4 separate regions of the Homo sapiens genome follow, and all the other regions are linked to region 3. Evidence: promoter capture Hi-C in 16 types of primary human blood cells and fetal thymus (Javierre and others, 2016). All regions are on one chromosome and are shown on one strand. The core of a region is centred on a gene start or on the middle of the fragment in contact, and the rest is flanking DNA. Distances in the headings are between cores, read along the strand shown.

Region 1 (2,987 bases), core at 278-2,777, 94 kb before region 3:
ATCTATGAGCCCAGTTTTTCCTGTCTCTTAAACCTCCAGCTTTACTGACAGTTATTTAACTTCTTAGGTGTTTCTCTCTTTCTGGTAACAAGATAGAGGAAAGTCAAAAGTAGAGACAGAAGTGAAAAGTATAGTTAAATAGAATCTTTTTGGTACCAGCAGTGAAATAAGTTGGGGTTTGAGGGGAAAGGATAAAACTGCTAGGTAAGAAACTTGAAAGTTAATTGTAGATTTCAATTGTATCCTTCAATAGGCTCAAGTCTCTGCTCAGAAGACATATCATCAGAGAGGCCTTCATTGACCACCCTACCTCAAATAGCACCTCCACATTCCTATCCTTCTACGTGACTTTATTTTTATGGCCCTTGTCACCACCTGACATGATTTTAATTTTATTATTCTCCCATTACAATGTAAATTTAATATGTGCAATAACTTTGTTCACAGCTATAATCCCAACAGTCAGCACAGCCACTGGTACGAAACAGTTCCTTATGAGTGAGTGAATGAATGAATGAATGAATATATCTATAATATTCAAGTCCTCATACTTGATAGATGATCAAAGTATATATAACTTTAATTTAAAATATAAAAAAGTAATTTAAAATATACATTTTCTTGGTGACAGAGTGTTCTGAAATATAGAATGTTTCCTTTCAAGATATGTCAATATCCCAAACTGGTACGTTTACTGTTTCATTAGTAAAACATATACACATAGAAACATAAAATTAGGCTGCTGAAAGAGTCAGAAACATAAAAAAGGAAAAGTTAGAAAGGTAAAAAAGCTCTCACCATTTTTTTTCTTAAACAAGAAATTAACTGCAACTAAAATACATTAAAATTTTGAATAACAAGCTCAAAAACAATTTTTTTTTTTAAATTTGAGACAGGGTCTCACTCTGTCACCCAGGCTGGAGTACAGTGGTATAATATTGACCCACTGCAACCTCTGCCTCCTGGGCTCAAGCAATCCTCCTGCCTCAGCCTCTTGGGTAGCTGGGACTACAGCCTTGTGCCACCACAGCTGACTAATTTTTTGTTGTTGTTATTTTTTTATACAGACGAGGTTTCACCCTGTTGCCCAGGCTGGTCTCGAACTCCTAGGCTCAAGTGATCTGCCCCCCTCGGCCTCCCAAAGTGCTGGGATTATAGGTGTGAGCCACATCTGGCCCCAGAACAATTTCTGATATAAAATAATACATATTCTAGATGGTAGGAAAAATAAATTCCTTTCACAAACACTTAATAATAACTATTTTTATATAGACATAAATCTACTTTTTTAACATAATTTAAATCACAATTGGATCCTTTCTAAAAATTAAGCTTCTTTCATATGTGCTTACCGGGAAGAAAAAAATACAATTAGGACTGTTCACAGTGGTTATTAGAATATGACCGTTTATTTTAGGTAGATGTTTAAAGGATCCTCAAACTCTGAAGTTTAGGAAAAACTATGATTCATCCTAAGACATATTTGAGAAAAAAATGAAAAACTTCTTAGATATGAGAGTAAGAATCTGTTACTAACAAATGCCTAAATAAATTAAAATTGAATTTTTTAAACACTTGAAAAATAAAAATTAACTTACCTATAGGGTATCCCAATGCAAAGTCATTACTTTGTGTAGCAAAAATAGGGAATAGTCCAGCTTTGCTAAATCGACTATCAGGACTGGCAACCAATAAGGTTAATACACATACAATGAAAAATACAGAAGCTTTGGCAATTAAGATACTATATAGGAAGGACCAGTCCACATTGGAAAAATTAAGTACAACCATGTTTTTGAATAATAAAGCTGGAAGTGCAAATCTGGAGACAAAATTTCCTAGTCCTTTGGCCTGGGTTGATGTTATGACATTGGCCCTTCCTGCTATGTAGCCACAAAGGACAATGCCAAAGCATTCCAGTAAGGCTGGAAAAAGCCTTGTAATTGACATTGAAGGTGGGTCATTAGTGGAATTAAATCCATGCGTTACTGCTGTAGGCAAAGTCTTGGTCATATTGACTGCAATGGTTAAGTTCTCTGCAGGTAAATTAGAATTCATTTTCTCTCACCCTCCAACTCCAACCAGATCTCTGGAAAGAAAGGAAGAAAGATTCAGTATGGCCATCAACAAGAATTCTAGTTGAAATAATACACTGGCAAACCTAGATTTGTTTACTTATTAAATGGCCAAATAAATATACATACCCCTAGATTTATTTACTTATTCAATGGCCAAATAAATATACATACCATCAGGGAAAATACAATGGAAAAAAAAGTGGGGGGTTGCTAACAATAATCGCTTCACTCTCAAAGGCAGGTCAGCTCAAAATATTTATGTTGCTAAGTTCTATACTCAGTATTAGACATGAGTAAAATAAGATCCGCAAATATTAGAGCTGCAGTGATGCCCTGTGGTTCTCTCCAGTGATTCTCTCCATCAATTGAGCTCCGCCTGGTGGATAAGGGCATCGGGCACACATAGTCTCCGCTGAATGTCCCCATGCATCCAAATTCTCTGGAAATTTCAGAAGTTCTCAAGGCTACATTGAGGAGTCACCCAGGGACCAGAGTCCTTTCCAGCCCGTGGTCATATTTGAATATAGGATGGGAAGAAGGGTATAGTAGAGCACTACTAATCAACTTTAAACCAATAACTTTTTTTTCTAAAGACAGGGTCTTGCTCTGTCTCCCAGGCTGGAGTGCAGTGGTGCAATCTCAGCTCAGTGCAACCTCTGTCTCCTGGGTTCAAGCGATTCGTGTGCCACCACGCCCGGCTAATTTTTGTATTTTTGTAGCGACATGTTGCTTAGGCTGGTTTTGAACTCCTGACCTCAGGTGATCTGCCTGCCTCAGCATCCCACAGTGCTGGGATTACAGGCATGAGCCACTGTGCCCGACCTGAACGAATTAACTTTAACTTTTCTGTGTCTCACCTTCTTCACCTGTAAAATGGCAATAATAGTAATACCTACCACATGGGAACTT
Region 2 (2,964 bases), core at 369-2,868, 77 kb before region 3:
CTGATTTAGGGAATAAACCAGAAATTATGTCTTTTTTTTTTAAGAGACGAGGTCTTGCTTTGTCACCCAGGCTGGAGTGCAGTAGTGTGATCATAGCTCACTGCAGTTCCAAATTCCTGGGCTCAAGTAGTCCTCTCGCCTCAGCCTCGGAGTAGCTAGGTGTGCGCCACCACACCCAGCTAATTTTTTTTTTGTAGAGACAGCGTCTGGCTATGGTGACCAGACCGGTCTTAAACTCCTGACTTCAAGCAGTCCTCTTGCCTTGGCCTCCCAAAGTGTTGGGATTATAGGTGTAACCCACCATGGCCAGCCTGTAAGTCTGTCTTAAGAGTAAGTAGGAATATTTATCTTAGAGGAGGGCAAAAAAATTTTTCTATGGTCTCAGTGCTCATTGGGAGAAATATGTTTTCATCATTAAAAAAGGGCACATTGAGTCTGGCATTTTCCATTAGAAATCCATTTCAGTAACTGTTTTCCTATGACATTGTTCCTCATGTGAAACCCATTTCTTTTGATTTGCTCTTTGTGAAGAAAAACAAAACAAACCAGTTGGCTGTCTTCATTCCTTGTACATATACACCATGTCTTCACTATGATGTCATTTCCAAACCCCAGTTAGAAAGTTCACATTATAGGTAAAACTAGGTGAGGTAATATTCTGACACATTCAATAACTAAGCCAATACATTGAATGTGTTGTCGATTATGTAGTAAAACCCCAGTGTAGTCTTTTCACCATCTCTTAAAGCTTTGGTTTTTGAGAAACAATTATAATTCCTCTTATCTTTCTTCAGAGATGTTATTTTCTAAAATTTGGCTTTTTAATAATCTTTTCCTTTATAGTTTGTGCATTTGGTATCTTTTAAAGAAATCCTTCCTTGCATCAAGGTCATAATGATATTTACCTACGTTTTCTTCTAAAAGCTAAATGTTTTGTAAAATTGTTTTTCTTTGTATCATTTTTCAATTCTCATCTGTTATTAGAGCCCCACTCTAGATCCAGAATGTACAAAGTTTCTGTCCCACAGAGAATAATACTTCTGCAGCTCCTGCTAGAGTCTGGATCAAAAAACTCTCAATGTAGAATAAAGTGAAATAGGAGTGTTCAAAGAGATTTTAAAATTTATAAAATGTGGTAAAAGAAGATAGCAGATGGCTGGGTGTGGTGGCTTGCACCTGTAATCCTAGCACTTTGGAGGCCAAGGTGGGAGGATTGCTTGAGCCCAGGAGTTTGAGACCAGCCTTGGCAACACACTGAGACCCTGTCTCTATTTATTTAAAAAAAAAAAAAAAGGGCCAGGTGCGGTGGCTCACACCTGTAACTCACTTTGGAAGGCCAAGGCAGGTGGATTACTTGAGGTCAGGAGTTCTAGACCAGCCTGGCCAACATGGTGAAACCCTGTCTCTACTAAAAATACAAAAATTAGCTGGGCATGGTAGCACATGCCTGTAATCCCAGCTACTTGGGAGGCTGAGACAGAAGAATCACTTGAACCTGGAAGGTGGAGGTTGCAGTGAGCCAAGACCATGCCACTGCACTCCAGCCTGGGTGACAGAGCGAGACTCTGTCTCAAAAAAAGAAAAGGTAGCAGAGCAGTAAGAGCAGTATCAGCTAATGGAAATATAAATTATCTTAAAGCCAACCCTCCAGAGATACTGAAGAGATGAGGCCTTAAACCTTGAGAAGAGTGAGCAAATGCAGTATGTGTGGTCTAATGGCCAGTAGCCATGTTGTGGATAAACTTATCACATGTTTGTCAAATGTCTAGCACAGATATGCTTATCATATATTTGTCAAATATCTAGCAGGACCTTGAAGATGCCCTTGAAGAAAAGTCACTTCACAGTCCCATGTCATGGCTAATAAGTAGCCAACCACTCAGAGTGAGGTGAGGTGTTTCATTCCTGTAATCCCAGTAACTCAAGAGGCTAAGGCAGGAGGATCATTTGAGGCCAGGCGTTCAGGATCAGCATGGAAGACACAGTGAAGCCTTGTCTCCAAAAAACAAAGTCATCTCAAAGACAGAACTCTTTGGTGGTACACTCCTGTAGTCCTAGCTACTCAGGAGGCTGAAGTGGGAGGATCACTTGAGCCCAGCAGTTTGAGGCTGCAGCAAGCTATGATTGCACCACTGCACTCCAGTCTGGGTGACAGAGTGATGGTCTGTCTCCAAAAAAAATTAAATTAAAAAAAATTAAAAATAATATAAGAAAGAAATCCTTGGATACAGTTCCTAGGTGTCCCACACAGCTGAACCCTGCTATGGCTCCAGCCTCCCATGTCCACCTGCTCCCTTAGGTCCTTGGCTCAACTTTGGAACTGGTTGTTGCACTTTGGGCTCCAGCCCTTGTGCCGCTCTGTGAATATCTATCACCTCCTGTCTTCTGCCTGCCCCAGTGGTGCTGCTCTATTATTGACTTGGCTCACTTGTACACTCAGAATCAGAGGGACTTCGTGATCCCTAATATCACCTCAAGCTGATACGAGTAAGCTTCTAGCCTTACCTGACCCGCTGTTACCTGGTGGAGACTATTGCTTGTACTGGTAAAGCCAAACCATTATGAGAGCTCCACATACTCAAATGGTCTTGATGACAGTCCTCTAGCAAAGGAGGCATTTCCATAGATACGAAATCATCTGTTTTCAAAGGTGTGACCTGTGTTAGGCTACCCTGGGCTGAGTAGGCCCATCCTTTGTAGGAAGACCTATTTTCCTCCCACCAAGTGACTCTGATAGTTTGGTGGGTTCGAGGGATGATTCCCCTCCTCACCAGCAACCGACTTCCCTGCTGTCCACTATAAGAAGTGTTACTTCTGGCTGGGTGCGGTGGCTCATGCCTGTAATAGTAGCTCTTTGGGAGGCCGAGGCGGGTGGATCACCTGACTTCAAGAGTTTGGGACCAGTCTGGCCTACGTGGTGAAACCCCGCCTCTACTAAAAATACAAAAATTAGCTGGGCGTGGT
Region 3 (3,034 bases), core at 468-2,967:
CAAGAGTGCTTGGAGAGGCCAGGGTACATGGAGTGGCTGGGGACAGCTCTTCTGAGAATGTGACATGTGAGCTGAGGCCTGACAAGAAGGAGTCAGCCACGGAAAGATGAGGAAGACCAGCACTTTGGGCAGGGTTGGCCAGCAGGTGCAGAGGCCCTGAGGTGGGAAAGAGCTTCAAGTTCAAAAACGGGCCCATGTGCCCGGGGCACAGTGAGAATGGGAGAGATCCATGGGAAGTGGAGCCTGAGTGGCCAGCAGGGGTTAGTCACAAGGAGCCCTGCAGGACAGAAGGGGTTCCGATTTTATCTAAGGCACAGGAAGAAGCATTTGGACAGATGTATACAGTGGAGTATCATGAACTTAAGAGAGAACTTTCTTCTTCTTTTTTTTTTTTTTTTTGAGACAGTGCCTCCTCTGTTGCCCAGGCTGGAGTGCAGTGGTGCAATCACGGCTCATTGCAGCTTCAACTTCCTGGGCTCAGGCAATCCTCCCACCTCCGCCTCCTGGGTAGCTGCGACTACAGGCAAGAGCCACCATGCCCACTAACTTTTTGTTTTTTTTTAGTAGAGACAGGATTTTGCCATGTTGCCCAGGCTGTTCTTGAATTTTTGGGCTTCAGCCATCTGCCTGCCTTGACCTGTGAAAGTGCTGGAATTATAGGTGTGAGCCACCATGCCTGGCCCATTTTATTATTTTATTTTTCTTTGTCTTTTGCCTTAATTTCTTCACCTGTTGTTAAAGTACTAAATGTATACATTTATCAGCTGCCTTAAATCCTTTTGGTGAGTTTTAAATAAATTTAAATTCAAATTTAAATGGTGGTCTGGCAAGATAGAACCTCTCATGTGACTGAGTTTCTCTCTAGATTTGGACCATTCAGTGATAAAATAGTAGGCTAACCCTGAGGATTCAGTGATTCCATATTCATGTAAATGTGAGAGTTTCATTCTTTCCCAGGGGACATCTTATAAAAGGTCTAAAAATGAAAATTATTATAACATGATCAACATTACAAAAGCAGTTTTATGGTAAAATTTCTTGAGTTTCTGTAGTAGCTGGGAGAGAGCCTCATGCCCTCTGCAAAGTTTTTTATCTAGGCATTCATGAGCAAGTTCAGTTTTTTTCTACCATCAGGTTCATAGACAATCCTGAAGGACTCATGTCCATGGCTCCCTGCAGAGACTCCTGAGAACCACTGGCACTGAAATACCAAATATCTGTCATGCAAAACACTTTTTCAGATTTAGTGAGATTTGTAATCATATTCCACAAGATGTGCTCCATCGTGTTTGAAAAGCGGCTCACAAGTATTTACTCTACTAGACAGCTGGGCTACCTCACAAAGAAAGCTGAATCTGTCAGGTCACCAGGCAGATTTCCAGGGCCAGCAAGTTCTATTTGCTCCTCCCTTTTCTTCCCACTCCAGCTAACCCTTTAGAAAAGTAAAAAAAAAAAAATGTACAGGTTACCCCCAAAGACACTGGGTGAAAATTTCATAGTTCTGTGTAGCTGTCTGATCCTGGTTAATAATAATAATAAAGCCTAAATTGAGTCTCTTATAAAACAGTGGTAATATTTAAAACAATGTACAATATTTTAATAAGGGCGAAGAGCCTTAGAGGCTATGACCAGCCTCCAAACTGCCAAACTCTGCCTTGTCTTCAGTCACTCAGAGACAGGGAAACTCTCCTTACCATTATCCCTGTTGGCCGTGGATCTCAGCTTCGGCATTCCAGCCTGGAACAATCCTCCCAGACCTGGAGGTCCGCCCCCTCCAAAACTTCCACCGCCTCCGCCACCACCTCCTCCGCCAAATCCGCCGCCTCCACCAAAGCCACCACCACCGCCTCCAGCACCAGCTCCTTTAGGTTCTGTAGAAGAAGAGACACCCGACAGACTATGCCCCCTGGTCTGGCCCAGGTAAACCATAAAACAACAGTACAACAGGGAGCTGGCCGGCTCTCGGCCTCCAGTGGACAACTGGGATTTCTTCATTAAAATGCAGGATTTTAAGAGTTCCCTCAGCTCAGTCAGAACTGCCCGCTCCAGGCAGTCCCAAGCCCAGTGGTGGAAGAAACGAAAATAAAGGATGATTTGTCCCCACACTCCCCACTTGACTGGCTGCCACATGGGTCAGTATCTGTTTGTTCCGTATCCTAAGATTTGGCAAATAGAAGGATCTTCAGGCTGGGTGCAGTGGCTCACACATGTAATCTCAGCACTTTGGGAGGCTGAGGTGGGAGGATCGCTTGAGCCAGGGAGGTCAAGACTGCAGGGAGCCAAGACTGTGCCACTGCACTCCAGCCTGGGTGACAGTGAGACCCTGTCTCAGTAAAAAGGATCTTCAAAGAAAGAGGGTCGCAAGGGAGGAGGAGATGCCATAAAAGGCGAGAAGAAAGGAAAGAGTTAAAAAGAAAAGAAAATAAAATATCTCATAATTTCACAAATATACAAATATCCAGGCTAGGCACAGTGGCTCACACCTATAATACCAGCACTTTGGGAGGCTGAGACTGGAGGATAGCTTAGGCCCCAGAAGTTTGAGACCACCCTGGGCAACAAAGTGAGACCTCGTCTCTACGAAAATAAACAACAACAACAAAATGTAGCCAGGCATGGTGGTGCACACCTGTAGTCCCAGCTACTTAAGAGGCTGAGTGAGAGGATCACTTGAACCCACTGAGGCTGCAGTGAGCTATGATTGCACCACTGCACTCCAGCAAAAAAAAAAAAAAAAAAACACTAAGCAAATATCCACAATTGAGTTATACTTTTTCCCATCAGTATTTTTCATTTTATGTGTTTTTTCTTAAAATTAAGAACAAATTCACTAAGCAGTATTAAGCCTGCTTTTTTCATTTAACACTTTGTTAGCACTTCTTGTGTCATACTCTTTGAAAACATGAGTTTAAAGGATTCTATTGTATTGTAGAACATGAATGTATTACATTAAAATTTATTTAACTACTCATTTGATGGCCCTTTAGATTGCTATTAATTTTTTAATATCATGAAGCCCAATAGTAGGCTTTAG
Region 4 (3,061 bases), core at 7-2,506, 130 kb before region 3:
GAGTTTACAATTTGCCTTAACCCCTGCCTTTCACCATATACAAAAATTAACTCAAGATGGACTAAGATTTAAATGTAATGTCTCAGCCAGGCACGGTGGCTCACGCCTGTAATCCTAGCAATTTGGGAGGCTGAGATGGGCGGATCACTTGAGGTCAGGAGTTCAAGACCAGCCTGGCCAACATGGTGAAACCCTGTCTCTACTAAAAATACAAAAATTAGCCAGGCATGGTGGCGGCCGCCTGTAATCCCAGCTATTTGGGAGGCTGAGGCAAGGGAATTGCTTGAACCTGGGAGCAGAGGTTACAGTGAGCCAACATCGTGCCATGGCACTCCAGCATGGGCAACAGAGCAAGACTGTGTCTCAAAAAAAAGTAATGCCTCAAACTATAAGAATCCTAGAAGAAAACCTAGGAAACACCATTCTGGACATCGACCTTTGGGAAGAATTTATGACTCAGTCCTCAAAAGCAATTGTAACAAAAACACTATACTGGGAAGTTTTTTGTTTTTTGTTTTTTGTTTTTTTTTTTTTTTTTTGAGACGGAGTCTCGCTCTGTCGCCCAGGCCGGACTGCGGACTGCAGTGGCGCAATCTCGGCTCACTGCAAGCTCCGCTTCCCGGGTTCACGCCATTCTCCTGCCTCAGCCTCCCGAGTAGCTGGGACTACAGGCACCCGCCACTGCGCCCGGCTAATTTTTTGTATTTTTAGTAGAGACGGGGTTTCACCTTGTTAGCCAGGATGGTCTCGATCTCCTGACCTCATGATCCACCCGCCTCGGCCTCCCAAAGTGCTGGGATTACAGGCGTGAGCCACCGCGCCCGGCCTACTGGGAAGTTTTAAGGTAAAAACAAAAACAAAACCAAAAATTGACAAGTGGGACCTAATTAAACTAAAGAGCTTCTGCATAGCAGAAGAAACTATGAACAGAGTAGACAGACAACCTACAGAATGGGAGAAAATATTCGCACACTATGCATCTAACAAGGCCTAATATCCAGAATCTATAAGGAACTTAAACAATTGAACAAACAAAACACAAATAACTCCATTAAAAAATGCACAAAAGACATGAACAGACACTTCTCAAAGAAGACATACAAGCGGCCAACAAACATGAAAAAATGCTGCACATCACTAATCATCAGAGAAATCAAAACCACAATGAGATACCGTCTTGCATCAGTCAGAAGGGCTATTATTAAAAAATCAATAAACAACAGATGCTGGTGAGGCTGTAGAGAAAAGGGAATGCTTTATACCATTGGTGGGAATGTAAATTAGTTCAGTCACTGTGGAAAGCAGCCTGGAGATTTCTCAAAGAACTTAGAACAGGACTACCATATGACCCAGCAATCCCATTACTGGGTACATATCCAAAAGAAAAAAAATGGTTCTACCAAAAGACTCATGCACTTGCATGTTCATCACAGCACTACTCACAACAGCAAAGCATGGAATCAAACTAGGTGCCCATCGATGGTGGACTGGATAAAGAAAATGTGCTACATATATACCATGGAATACTATGTAGCCATAAAAAGAATGAAATAGGCCAGGCACAGTGGCTCATGCCTGTAGTCCCAGAACTTTGGGAGGACAAGGCGGGCAGATCGCTTGAGCTCAGGAGTTCGAGACCAGCCTGGGCAACATGGCGAAACCCTGTCTCTAAAAAACTAAACAAGTCCGGATGCGGTGGCTCACGCCTGTAATCCTAGCACTTTGGGAGGCTGAGGTGGGCAGATCACCTGAGGTCAGGAGTTTGACACCAGCCTGACCAATATGGTGAAATCCCGTCTCTACTAAAAATATAAAAATTAGCCGGGCATGGTGGCAGGTGCCTGTAGTCCCAGCTACTCGGGAGGCTGAGACAGGAGAATTGCTTGAACCTGGGAGGCGGAGGTTGCAGTGAGCCAAGATCGTGCCACTGCACTCCAGCCTGGACGACAGAGCGAGACTCCATCTCAAAAACAAAACAAAACAAAAATTAGCCAGGCGTGGTTGCACACGTCCGTAGTCCTGGCTACTTGGTAGGCTGAGGTGGGATGATGGCTTGAGCCTAGAAGGCAACAGTTGCAGTGAGCTGTGCACTCCAGCCTGGGTGGCAGAACCAGATCCTGTCTTGAAAAAAAAAAAAAAAGAATGAAATAATGTCCTTTGCAGCAACACGGATGCATCTGGAGGCCATAATCCTAAGTGAATTAACACAGAAACAGAAAACCAAGTGCTGCATGTGCTCACTTATAAGTGGGAACTAAACATCAGATACTCATGGACATAAAGATGGTAATGATGGAAACTGGGGACTACGAGAGGTGGAAAGGAGGGAGAGGGCAAGGGCTAAAAAACTACTGGGTACTATGCTTAGTACCTGGGTGATGGGATCATTTGTTTGTACCCCAAACCTCAGCATCACATAATATACCCAGGTAGCAAAACTGCACACGTACCCACTGAATCTAAAGTAAAAGTTGAAAAAAACTTTGCCTTAGGAAACACCTTTGAGGAACCATAAAAGTATTATATGCCATGTTTTGTTCACATATGGATACAAACACAAGTCACAGGCATGACTCTTTTCTGGCCAAAAATAGAGGTGAGGGACTTTTCACAGGAAGCCTTTGTTTTTCTACCTTAGCTCCATTCTATATATGGGAGCAAAAGCAAAGAAAAACATTTTTTTTACAAAATAGATGTCTAGTCCAACATATAGTCTTATACAAGTCAGTGATTAAAAACCACAATTCTATAGCTCTTGCCCTCAAGCTAAAAGAAAAAATTTGTATTTCCTAAAACCACATTTTAGAAAAGGCCATGTATACCCATTAAACATGGTCTAGCACAATTGCTGATGGCATGGGGGAAGGTTCATAATGTTGCTAAGTATAAAGAAAGTAGGTTGCCAAACTGTCTCTGTAGTATGATCCTATTTGAATAAAAATTATTTGTATATATGTGTGGAAAAATCCTGGAAGTATACCTATATATAATAAATCTGGTTTTAAAATATTGTGTACAAGCCAGGCACGGCAGCTGACGCCTGTAATCCCAGAACTTTGGG

The links. The method cuts DNA at HindIII sites, captures the fragments that hold promoters and counts their contacts. A CHiCAGO score of 5 or more calls a contact.
Region 1: a fragment that was not itself captured here is called in contact with the fragment with the promoter of WIPF1-AS1 in region 3 in 8 of 17 cell types (non-activated CD4 T cells, activated CD4 T cells, naive CD4 T cells and 5 more); the score reaches 9.5 in non-activated CD4 T cells.
Region 2: a contact is called between a fragment that was not itself captured here and the fragment with the promoter of WIPF1-AS1 in region 3, in 3 of 17 cell types (activated CD4 T cells, non-activated CD4 T cells and total CD4 T cells). The highest score is 6.1, in activated CD4 T cells.
Region 4: a fragment that was not itself captured here is called in contact with the fragment with the promoter of WIPF1-AS1 in region 3 in 1 of 17 cell types (non-activated CD4 T cells); the score reaches 5.4 in non-activated CD4 T cells.

What each region holds. Positions count from the first base shown.
Region 1 is chr2:174,479,899-174,482,885 of GRCh38, forward strand. GPR155 (G protein-coupled receptor 155) reads right to left here. Exons shown (of 16, transcript NM_152529.7): 2 at 1,599-2,089. The coding sequence starts at 2,058. Among named protein-coding and RNA genes, the nearest start is that of GPR155, 5.6 kb to the right of the region's middle. The HindIII fragment of the contact is 395 bases long and covers 1,331-1,725 here.
Region 2 is chr2:174,496,389-174,499,352 of GRCh38, forward strand. No RefSeq gene overlaps it. Among named protein-coding and RNA genes, the nearest start is that of GPR155-DT, 10 kb to the left of the region's middle. The HindIII fragment of the contact is 1,744 bases long and covers 747-2,490 here.
Region 3 is chr2:174,573,510-174,576,543 of GRCh38, forward strand. WIPF1-AS1 (WIPF1 and CHRNA1 antisense RNA 1) reads left to right here and starts at 1,718. Exons shown (of 2, transcript NR_199010.1): 1 at 1,718-1,920. WIPF1 (WAS/WASL interacting protein family member 1) reads right to left here. Exons shown (of 8, transcript NM_001375834.1): 4 at 1,695-1,871. The HindIII fragment of the contact is 9,595 bases long and covers 1-3,034 here.
Region 4 is chr2:174,448,010-174,451,070 of GRCh38, forward strand. The region is part of intron 11 of GPR155 (G protein-coupled receptor 155); the gene reads right to left. Among named protein-coding and RNA genes, the nearest start is that of GPR155, 37 kb to the right of the region's middle. The HindIII fragment of the contact is 7,677 bases long and covers 1-3,061 here.